2 separate regions of the Homo sapiens genome follow, and region 1 is linked to region 2. The links are contacts of gene promoters, found by promoter capture Hi-C in blood cells and fetal thymus (Javierre and others, 2016). All regions are on one chromosome and are shown on one strand. Each heading gives the region's core, a stretch centred on a gene start or on the middle of the fragment in contact. The rest is flanking DNA. Distances are from core to core; before and after follow the strand shown. Region 1 overlaps SH3BP5L (SH3 binding domain protein 5 like). Region 2 holds the start of PGBD2 (piggyBac transposable element derived 2).

Region 1 (6,239 bases), core at 307-2,806, 92 kb after region 2:
CCCCCAAGACATGAAAGCATCATAAAGTATAGAAAATAAAAATATGATTAATACAGCACAGATAACCATGTGTGCTGTATTAATCATATTTCGTGTCCTTGTATATCCAGCCAAAATGGGATTACACAGTATGTGCTATTTTGTTCTTTTATTAGCATTATGACATGGTTCCATGTCAATAACTATACATCCAAGCCGTCATTTTAAAGGACTGATTAATATTTTATTTTTTTAAGAAATGGGGTCTTGCTCTGTTGCCCAGACTGGAGTGCAATGGTGTGATCATAGCTCACTGTAACCTCAAACTCCTAGGCTCAAGTAATCCTCCTCCCTCAGCCTCACAAGTAGATGGGCTCACAGGCAGAAGCCACTGCGCCCAGCTTATTTTCTTATATTAGATGTACTATTATTTATTTAACCGATGTCCTATAACTGAAAAGTTAGGTTTGTTTTGTTTTTTGCTTGGTTGGTATGGCTATGATGACTGTCCCTGAGCACTTGTCTGATTACTTCCTTCAGCTTGCCTGCTGAACATGGAATTGATGGTCTCAAGGTCATCTTTTCTGTAAGACTCTGTCTATGTTGCTAACCACCTTACACTAAAATGGTTTGTGTTTTCCTTTGTTTTCCCTAGGGGAAAAGGCTAGCAGCCTTTGGGAGTGCTGGATTTCACACATCTACCCTCCACTGGCAAAATTTTTATTTCTTCTAGTCCATATCCTTATGAAATATTCTTTATAGAATGTTGCTTCCTTGGCATTTATCCTCAGCACAGTTTGGGAAATGAAGCCGACATTGCTAGTAGGCCTTCCTCCTTCTCTTATCCTCACGTCTATTATGGGTCTCCATGGGCAGCTGGGGTCCCTCAGGGTTCCCCATCCTGATATCCCTCTCCCCCCAGGCTCAGCAGGAGACACAGAAGGCAGCGCTGCGGTACGAGCGGGCCGTAAGCATGCACAACGCTGCTCGAGAAATGGTGTTTGTGGCTGAGCAGGGCGTCATGGCTGACAAGAACCGACTGGACCCCACGTGGCAGGAGATGCTGAACCATGCTACCTGCAAGGTGAGCCGGGCGGTGCCAGCAGGTCCCCTTCGCTGGTTCTCGTCCATCCTTTGCTATGTCTTTATCACCTCACCTCCTCATTCTTCCCTCTATTCTAGCCTTCTTTCAACTTTGATTCTGTTTCAGGCAAAACCTGTTCCTAGTTTTCTGTTCTGTTTGGCCTCCATTGCTTCCCATATTCCATTTCCCTCTGACTTAGAATGTCATCCCGGGCTCTTCTTGAACGTTTGCCTCCAGGTGTGGGACTAACCCAAACAATTCATCCCTGGTGGATACTGAGGATTCAACATTCACATTTTATTATGTTTAGCTGTGTGACTCCTCGCTTCTGTTTTCAGAGTCTGCTCCCTTTCCTGCTTTTGAGCTCTGACAGTACACCTCGAGTTTTGAAGTATAATTTATGTATCATTTCCAAGCTCCTGAAAGGGGACTGGGGAGCGGAAGGATCTCTGCCGTTGGCCCTGTCTGCCACCTTCAGCTTGCACAGGGCAGGTGTCAGCAACTCGAGGGGGTGTTTGTGGCTTGTGATTCTTCATCTGCCCCTCACACAGAACAGGCACCTCACTTCTACTCTAGAGCTCATGCAAATGAGAGCACACAGCACGGGGGGAGGGGTTAGGGGATGGTGTATAGTGTAGAGCTACACCTGAACAGGGAGCAGGTGAGGGCTCCAGCCGCTTTGTCTACCAGGACAAGTGGGCCAACTGTACAACACCCTGAGCAGAAGCACGCCAGAGCCCCATCCAACCTCGGCCCACTTGTCCTGGACGGTGCCCACATAGGGTGTGGAAACCTGGAGAACCCAGCGCACAGCTGTGGCTCCCCACACAGGCTCTTCTCACTCCCAGATCCCTAACCATTGGCGCTGAGGGCTCCCTGAAGAGAATGGCTGCTGCAGATGTGTGATGTGCTGACAGACATTCCCCTGATGCTCTCAAGTGGTTGAGTGGGCACCAGCATCCCTTTCCTGGCAGCAGCAAAGCTGAGTAGCCAGTGGTGCAGGTGACACTAGGCAAGAACATGGGGAAGACGTGGCTCAGAGGCATGTGCCTGTGATGTGGTCCTCGACGGTCAGGCAGCAGATCCAAGAGAGACAGAAATAAGCTGTCTTGAGGCTCATAGACCCCGTGTTCCCCTGCGTGTCTCGGGCTCTGTACACAGTTGGGGGTTTGCAGAGGATGTTCCTGTTTGGGTTCCCCCCAGGGCGTTGTTCAGATTGGCAGCCTGGGGCAGATGCCAGAGACTGAAGCATGGGTCCTGGCTCAGTGATGTGTCCTCTGGGCCAGGTGAATGAGGCGGAGGAAGAGCGGCTTCGAGGTGAGCGGGAGCACCAGCGAGTGACTCGGCTGTGCCAACAGGCTGAGGCTCGGGTCCAAGCCCTGCAGAAGACCCTCCGGAGGGCCATCGGCAAGAGCCGCCCCTACTTTGAGCTCAAGGCCCAGTTCAGCCAGATCCTGGAGGTAGCTGAGTGGGTGAGGGGGAGGAGGAATGGGTAGGTGGGGGTGCAGGCTGGAGGGGATGCTGGTCGGCCTCTCTGGGCCATCTTGGTGAGGTGGCCAGGGTGAGGCCTCCGGCTAGCGGTGGGGAAGGGTGGTGGCACACATGTTCCAAATGACCTTGCAGGAGTGAGAGGCAGGGATGGGGGCTGGTGATGGGGGCTGGTGACGGCGAGAACGTAGTTGGAAGAAGGGAGGTAAACAAGAGGAAAAGAACTGGTGGAAATCTGGGATGGGGAAGAAGAACCAGCCATTGGGTGAAAGGGAACAGTGGGGAGAGGATGAGGAAGCAGGAGCTGGTGGAGAGGAAGGCCTGAGAGGAAGGCTCTGGAAGGTGGGGCTCAGGTCAGGAGCAGGATTGCTGGGGAGGAACAACGCAGAGCAAGTGGAGCAGGGAAGGGTGTTGTGGGTCTGTGGTGGGTGCTGAGAGTGGAGCAGGGAAGGCTGTTGTGGGTCTGTGGTGGATGCTGAGCCAGCTGTCCAGGTATTCTGGGAGAGCAGGCCCTCAGACCTCAGTGCAGAGTGCTGAGGAAGGTGGAGACGTGCCCCATGGGTCGCCTTGCTCTGCTCTGCCCTCTGCAGGAGCACAAGGCCAAGGTGACAGAACTGGAGCAGCAGGTAGCTCAGGCCAAGACGCGCTACTCCGTGGCCCTTCGTAACCTGGAGCAGATCAGCGAGCAGATTCACGCACGGCGCCGCGGGGGTCTGCCTCCCCACCCCCTGGGCCCTCGGCGCTCCTCCCCCGTGGGGGCCGAGGCAGGACCCGAGGACATGGAGGACGGAGACAGCGGGATTGAGGGGGCCGAGGGTGCGGGGCTGGAGGAGGGCAGCAGCCTGGGGCCCGGCCCCGCCCCCGACACCGATACCCTGAGTCTGCTGAGCCTGCGCACGGTGGCTTCAGACCTGCAGAAGTGCGACTCCGTGGAGCACTTGCGAGGCCTCTCGGACCACGTCAGTCTGGACGGCCAAGAGCTGGGAACGCGGAGTGGAGGGCGCCGGGGCAGCGACGGCGGAGCCCGTGGGGGTCGGCACCAGCGCAGCGTCAGCCTGTAGCCGAGGGGCCAGGGTTCCTGGCTTGAATCTGCCACCACGGGCCGGTTGGGGCCCACAGTCTTCTCACGCCCTCTCCTCTGGGGCCTCGTCTTCCCGAAGGTCCCCTTCTCCAGTGCTTCCCTGGGAGAGGCCAGCTGTGTTCGAGTCCTCTGTGCCTGCCCTGGCGTTCTCACAGCCTCCCCCTTCCCCTCAGCAGGCGGCTCTCTTTGCCTTACCCATTCAGAAGGCTCGCCCTCGGCGCTCTGTCTGCCTCTGCCTGCCAGCTCATCACGATCTGCAGGGCATTGACCCTTTGCTTTCCCTTTCTGCTCCCTCTCTTTCCATCTGTTTGGCTTTTTCCCTCAGGGAACTTGGTCTAGAAGGCACTGGGAAGCTCATCAGAGAAAATGGGTGCTGGGCCTGAGTACTCCCGTCGGAGGGGATGGACAGTCACCCCTCCCGTTGGTTTCCAGCCCCGCCCCCCTTCCCAAGGCAACTCTGGAGGGTACCCTAGGTATGCTGCTGAGCCCTGCCCCCCGTCCTGCTCCAGCCTGCCCGTGTGTAACCTGTAAGATGTACTGTGTGCCTCCGGAAGACACCACCTTTCCCTTCAGCATTCCCTTTCATGACCTGAGGCACTCTGCGATGTGTGCCCCAAAGCAGAACTTACAGGGCCTGCAGGAAGCTGGTGTCAGGGAGAGAAACCCAACCCCACTGTCAACATAGGGAGCATCACCAACTCCAGACTGGCTCCTGTGGGTATGGTGTTTCCGCTGGGCTGGGTCCTCAACATTGCCAAGGTGCTAGTGGGTCCCTAAGAGGGCCCATGTTGGGGGTGAAGTCATGAGGTCCTGAAGGCTTAGGCCCCTGTCATTCCCACCCTCACTCTTGCTGCACAGTTGTGTTTACTTTTTCTGGGTAGAGGATGCTGAACTGACTCAGCACCCTCCTGCAGGACGGGGTTAGGGAATTTGGTGCTCAATTGCTCTCCCTTGCTCTTCCCCAAACTGAAAATACCTACTGCAGGATCCCTCGGGGCACACTGAAGCTTGGCTGCCAACCCTCTTACTTCCTTTGTTACAGGGAGGGGTTGGCTTGGGGTGAAAAGTTCTGCCCTCCGCAGGGAGCAGCTCCAGCTGCCTGGCAGTGCTCCCAGTTTGTAGGGAAGCCACACCAGATCTGGGTGCCTTGGGAGAACCAGTCCTTCCTTTTGACCCACCCCAGGAAGATGGAGTGCTCTTTTCTAGGCCCATGTTCTGCCAGCAACCGGGATGCGTGGGCAACTGGACTCTGCACGGGGGTCTACAGGTTGAGGGAGGTTGGTCACAATGAGAACCTCGGGGTTTGAGGTGGCCATGGGCAGACAGCCGAAAGGGAGGGAGGGTGTGGGTGTGCGTGTGTGCATGTGCTGGTGTGTAAGGGGGAAAGGGTCTTTCCTGGTTTTATTTAAATAAAGTAGTTTATGTAACAGTTAACATCTACTGTCCTTGCTGGAGGAAGAGAAAAGGGGCAAAGATGAGGCAAGGGTTGGGCAAGGGAAGAGCAGGGTTAGGCGGCAGGCTTTTTAGATGGTGTGGTCAGGGAAGGGAGGTGAAGGACCAGATTGAGTGAGCTGCGCTATGCATGCTCTTGCGGGGGTGGAAGGCCCCATGGCCAGGGTGGTCATGTACAGGGCAAGTGTAGAGAAGCAGGGGAGGAGTTGGTGCCTCATGGGGCCATGCTGTGTGAGGTGATGGGTGCCAGGAGAGGGTTTGGTAGAAAGGGGCCTGCGGGGTGGAGTGGGCTCTGTCTGAGCTAAGAGATGAGAGTGCCAGAGGGTTGGGATCTTAGATGTGTCTGGATGTGAGCATGAATGTAGAGAAGGGACACAAGTAGTGATGCCAGATTTATCAATACAGTGAACCCACTGAAATTTCAGATAGGCAGTATTTTTGTCTGCTGCAGTGTTTAGGATGTACTTACATTATGAATTATCCGTTGTTTCTCTGAAATTAAAACCTAGATAAAAGGTGACTTCCAAGTCAGGGCTTGACTGGCTGGGGGATGGGAGGGGTTTGAGGGCACTTGAACTCACAGGTGGGAGATTGGATAGGGATGTGAACTCCAGGAGCTTTGAAGAAGAGCAAAAGGCTTTGTTTAGCCTGAGCTGCACTTGGAGTGTACCAGTATTTGGAGTTTTGTTGAGAAGAGGTCAGCCAAGGGAAGAAGAAGGTGCTGGCAGGGAGGAAGACCAGAAACCTTGGGGTCAAGGGGCAGGGTGAAGGCCAAGAATTGGAGGCACGCAATCAGAGCAGTGACCCTGGTGGCTGTGGACGCCATCTGAGGGGCCATCTGGGGCCGCTATGTGCTGAGCACTCACTGTGCCTTTGGATGGGTGCTGTCCAGGAGTTTGAGATTGCCTTCCCTGACTTGGCAGATGGGTGTCATAATATTTTATTACTAGAAAAGCTGCTATGAAAATGCATAGCATATGTTTTTGGGTGAGTGGGCTTTTTAAATTTTTTAAATTGTATGTATAGGAGGTGAACAACATGGTATTTTGATGCACATAATGAAATAGGTATCAAATTGGCCTATCATTTTGCAGTTACCTCCCCCCTTTTTTGTTGTGAAACCGCCTAAAATCTACTCTCAGCAAATTTTCAGTC
Region 2 (5,442 bases), core at 1,424-3,923:
ACAAAATGATGGAGAGCTGCAGAAAGAGTAACAATTCCCTCAGCAGGCAGGGAATAGCACCCCAGGCAAAAGGCACAGCACAGGAGAAGCAAAGCAGTGACGCCAGAGTAAGGAATCTGCGGGACAGGGTACAAGAGGCTGTACCAGCCCTGCAGAGACTTGAAGACCCTGTTAAGGAGGCCTGTCTTTATAAGAGCTATGGGAAGTTTAAAAAAAAAAAAAATACAGGAAGAGCATAACAGAAGGAAGGGTGTATGTTAACAAGCTTATTCTGGGTGCAGTATGGACAACTGAGTATGCAGGCCCCAACATAGATGCAGGGAGATGGACAAAAAGGCTACGGCAAAAGGGTGGGGCCTATGGAGAGAAATGGACACACTTAAGGAGGACTTAAAATGTAAAACCATCAAGCCTGGATAATTGGTTGAGGGGGTAGGGCAGGGGAGAAAGCTGATCGGGGAAGCCTCCTAGATTTCAGGCACCCTATGGCTGGTGCACAGAGGTGCCATTCACTAAGCCTAGCAGCACTGGGAGGAAGAGCAGAGGGTGGTCACGAGCTGCCCAGAGGTCCAACTGGGCATTCTCAACTGAACTGGCCCAGGCACTCAACAAAGAAAAAGCAACTTGGTGTGAGACCTGGAGCTCCCCAGGCCACTCTAAAGGGTCCTAGGGGATTGGGAGGTGGGAGAGCTGCTGTTTAAAATGTAAATTTCTCCAAGGAAAGACAGGACAACTAAATGCTGTCTTGGAACCTAAATTACAAAATGGAAATAGGTGAGAGTAAAGAAATTCGAATAAGGCCTGTAGGTGTTAATATCCTGGTTTTGTTGACTGTTTTGTAAAATAAGATGTTAACCCCTAGGAAATCCAGACGAACCGTACATGGGAATTTTTGCTTGTTTCACAACACTCTGAAACTCTGAAATTAATTCAAGATAAAAATTATTCAAAAGACATTTTATAGATGTAAATGCCCCAAAGCTGAGCCAGGTGCCTAACTGTAGGGAAAAGAAAGAGAAGTCAGACTGCTACTGTGTCTATGTAGAAAGGGAAGACATAAGAAATTCCATTTTGACCTGTACCTTGAACAATTGCTTTGCCCTGAGATGCTCTTAATCTGTAACTTTGCCCCAACCTCTTTGCTCCAACCTTGACCTCACAAAAACATGTGTTGTATGGAATCAAGGTTTAAGGGGTCTAGGGCTGTGCAGGACATGTCTTGTTAACAAAATGTTTACAAGCAGTATGCTTGGTAAAAGTCATCACCATTCTCTAGTCTCAATAAACAAGGGGCGCAATGCACCATGAAAAGCCACAGGGACCTCTGCCCTGGAAAGCCGGGTATTGTCCAAGGTTTCTCCCCATGTGATAGTCTGAAATACAGCCTCGTGGGAAGAGAAAGACCTTACCGTCCCCCAGCCCGACACCCGTCTGTGCTGAGGTGGATTAGTAAAAGAGGAAAGCCTCTTGCAGTTGAGATAGATGAAGGCCACTGTGTCCTGCCTGCCCCTGGGAACTGAATGTCTCCGTACAAAACCTGATTGTACATTTGTTCAATTCTGAGATAGGAGAAAAACTGCCCTATGGCAGGAGGCAAGACATGTTGGCAGCAATGCTGCCCTGTTATTCTTTATTCCACTGAAATGTTTGGGCAGAGAGAAACATAAATGTGGCCTACGTGCACATCCAGGCATAGTACCTCCACTTGAACTTATGACATAAATTCTTTTGCTCACATGTTTCTTTGCTGACCTCCTTATCACCCTGCTCTCCTACCGCATTCCTCTTGCTGAGATAATGAAAACAATAATCAATAAAAACTGAGGGAACTCAGAGACCGGTGCTGGTGCAAGTCCTTGGTATGCTGAGTGCCGGTCCCCTGGGCCCACTGTGGTTTCTCTATACTTTGTCTCTGTGTCTTATTTCTTTTCTCAGTCTCTCCTCCCACCTGACAAGATATCCCACAGGTGTGGAAGGGCAGGCCACCCCTTCACCCAACAGCTCAGAATGGCTTTTGTGGGATACGGAAGAACCCTCCCTTCTCTTCACCTCACTAGCAAAAGAGAAAGAAGGGCAAACAAAGACCCTCAGAAACCTCAGCAGCTTCCCAGGCAGACGCAGTTAAAAACGACCCGCCCCCAGCGCGCCCCGGCACAGAGCCACCCCGCCCCAGGATGTGACGTGGCATTCGCAGTCCCGCCGCCAGCCTCAGGCCGCCCGCCTCCTTCGTCCCGCCCACCCCGCCCGAGCCTGCCCTGGTCCCTCCCACCCCGCCCTGAATCCATCCCTCTTTAGCCCGACCCCGCCCTGGTCCCCACCCACCCCGCTCCGCCTCCCGCTCAGCCGGCCCGGCCTCCGGCCTCGCACCCCAACCCGCAGAAGGAGCGCCCCCTTGCGGCCCTCGGAATCCCATTGTTCCTGTCCTGGTCCCGCCAGCCCACCGTCGGCGCGCAGTGGTGAGGACGAACTCCTCGGATGCCGCCGTTGAGAAAACGCAACATCAACGCCAACCACTCCTGTACTCAAGCGAAGCCCTGCCTGCAGCGCGAGCACACTGAGGCCTACCTGCCCTACCCCAGACGGAGACTCGCGAGCCCGAACCGGACCATGAGCCGCGCCGAATCGGAGCGCTGCGCCTGCGTTGGCGTCGGGCGTCGCGGCCGCGCAACGTCCGGCACCAGAGGGCTCGCTGCACCTCGGCCGGCCTTCCATGCCACGCCCCCGGGCCAGGCCACGCCCCGGCCCGAGCGACCATCGAGACTCCAGGACCTCCGCGGCGCCTAGAGGGATCCCGAAAACGCCTGCGAGGCCAGAACGGCCGAAATAACCCACCCCAGCGGGCCAGCTCTTCCCGCCACTCTCCCTTACCCTCCCACCCCTGTCCTACTTTGGAAACCTTCCTCGCTCCTTCCTAATCAGGAGAGCATGGGGACTTTCTAGGGTAGTGGTTCTCAAATGTGCCCCCAATCTAACAGCAGCTTCACCTGGGAAATCGATGGAAATGCAAATCTTGGGACCCCACTACAGGCCTTCTGAGTAAGAAACTCTGAGGGTGTGCCCAATAATCGGCCTTACCAACCCTGAAGGTAATTGTGGTACAAACTAGGGCTTGAGAACCACTGCTGTATGGCAGGGTTTCTCAACCTCCACTCTTGACATTTTGGGCCTGGATAATTCTTTGTTGAGAGGGAAGGAGGCTGTCCTGTGCATTATAGGAGGCAGGGTCACGGATAAAATACAGTTAAATTTGAGTTTCAGGTAACAGTGTTGTTCATCTAAGATTCACATTTAACTGGAAGTCCCTGTATTTCATCTGGCTACCTTGCCTACCTATATTTTTACTTGGTAAAAATAGAACCTTAATTGTAGGATATTGAGCATCCCTAGCAACTAAATGCCAGTAGCACACCACACTCTCTCCACTCTAGTTATGACAAATAAAAGTATCTCCCCCTACTTCTTGAGAATCACGGCTCTATAAGGACTTTGTCCAGCTGAAACCCAGTAGCCCATTAGGTATATAGGACAGTGTACTCCGCAGAAAACTGCCTTGCCCTGAAAGGCTTTGAACACAGAAATCCCTGGGACCAAACCGTGTTAACATTCAAAAAGAGGGCCACTTAGTGAAGAGTTTGTATTTGCTTCTCCACACTGACACTTCACAAAGGTTTTTTGGTCACTGTAAAGTGTGTTCCAAAACCCCTGGATCAGAAGAAAAAAATCATGCTCATTTGTGAGATTCTGAAGTGAAGGGCACGTATTAGTTTGTCATTCATTCCACATATGAGCAAATTGAGAAAACAGGCAATAAGCCATGGGAAAATGGGAGTGCTACTCTAGGTAAGGTAGGGTGGTGTTTCTAACTTGCTTTGTTCCCCAGATCCTGTGTCTCATTCATTCATTCAAGTGTTAAATGAGTGTCTTCTCTGTGACAATCACTCCTCTGAGCAGTGATGTTAGAACAGTGAAAAAGAAAAGGCACAAGAGAAAAACCCTCTTGTCATTTCAGTGGGAGAACCAGACAGTAAACAAAATATATGGCATGTCAAAGTGGAAAGTGCTAGGAAGAAAATAAAGGAAGCAAAGGGGACCAATAAGACTGTTGTGAATTCAGTTTTAAATAATTTGGTCAGGGAAGGTTGGTAAGTGAGAAGGTTGTATTTGAGGGAAAAGCCAAAGAATATGAAGAGCAAATTCCCCATGCAGAATTCAAGGGGGAAAATATTTGAAGCAGAGAGAATGGCATGTGCAAATGCTCTGAGGCGAAGCAAGCCTAGCACATTTGAGAATGGCTGGAGACAAAAGAAAGTCAAAGAAATGAGGTCAAAGAGGGGGTGAGTTCAACAAGGAGTAATAAGGTGCTTGCTGGCTGTTTCTTCCATACCTTTATGATCCAGAGAGAATTCTCACTGCAATTTGGATACTTGCATATGTAATTTAAAGTTAATAAAAAGATCGGGACCAAGTGTAAGTGTTTATGGAGCTGCAAAGAGTCCATCTAGACATTTTCAGTGCATTGCTTTGAATAAAGCTACGTTTAAAAACAAAGTCAAATCTTTGAAAACAATGTCAAATTTGGGGTAGAATGGCAGAAGAACTGCATGATAGGAATTGGGAAAAAAAAAAAAATTTAGCCCGTTAAGCTAGAATCCTTTGAGGAAAATACATATTTTGAAGTTCTTTAATTGAGAAATAGGCTAAATAAGCTTTAAGGAAAAAATTGGGGAAAATATTTAAATTATGTGTATTATGAGTAAATTTCATAAAAGCCTTGCAGCCTAGTTTGTTTATAGATACTATCTTGCTTTAGGGAGTTAACAAATAAAAAAAAAACATAAAAAGAAGAAAATGGACTTAGGGAATTAAACTTATATATTTATTAATTTATTTCATTTAGTTTATTTCACCTGTACATGTCTTTGTGTGTATGTATGGGGTGAGACTTTACATATAAAAATTCTCATGTCGCATTGACTAAATAACACCTTATGGTTGATGATGTTAGTACATAGCAGCAATTAAAGCTCAGCTACAAGTTGCTGACTACATTAAAGTTTTTGACAGCCATAGCAGTATCACAGCCTACCCAACAATTAAGAATGTCACATACATGAAACCACAGTTGTATGGAATTATGAGAAAATACTCATTAGTCCATCAGGATATTTTAGTTAAGGAAATTACTAGAGATATCAGGTGAGCTGGACCTGAAGAAAGAACCAGATGCCAAATAATTTCAGGCTAGAACTCCCAAGCGCCCATGATTAATGGGTCCAGGATAAGAAGAGATTGCTGGTTTCTTGAAGCTTGCTTGTTAATAAATGATATGGAGGTGGCATGCATTCCGATGACAATTGAATTGATTTGACGCACTATGTATGATTAAGGATTTGATGTCCTGCATAAAGTTAAGAATCAGGCTGGGCAGTGGTGGCTCACACC

The links. The method cuts DNA at HindIII sites, captures the fragments that hold promoters and counts their contacts. A CHiCAGO score of 5 or more calls a contact.
Region 1: a fragment that was not itself captured here is called in contact with the fragment with the promoter of PGBD2 in region 2 in 5 of 17 cell types (naive CD8 T cells, neutrophils, non-activated CD4 T cells and 2 more); the score reaches 8.8 in naive CD8 T cells.

What each region holds. Positions count from the first base shown.
Region 1 is chr1:248,809,273-248,815,511 of GRCh38, reverse strand. SH3BP5L (SH3 binding domain protein 5 like) reads left to right here. Exons shown (of 7, transcript NM_030645.3): 5 at 902-1,063; 6 at 2,350-2,523; 7 at 3,142-5,066. The coding sequence ends at 3,612. Among named protein-coding and RNA genes, the nearest start is that of SH3BP5L, 14 kb to the left of the region's middle. RefSeq lists a silencer at 3,103-3,152. The HindIII fragment of the contact is 6,170 bases long and covers 1-4,641 here.
Region 2 is chr1:248,903,466-248,908,907 of GRCh38, reverse strand. It overlaps PGBD2 (piggyBac transposable element derived 2), which reads right to left and starts at 2,673. Exons shown (of 3, transcript NM_170725.3): 1 at 2,566-2,673. RefSeq lists silencers at 2,228-2,317, 2,728-2,787 and enhancers at 2,408-2,597, 2,122-3,043. The HindIII fragment of the contact is 4,441 bases long and covers 268-4,708 here.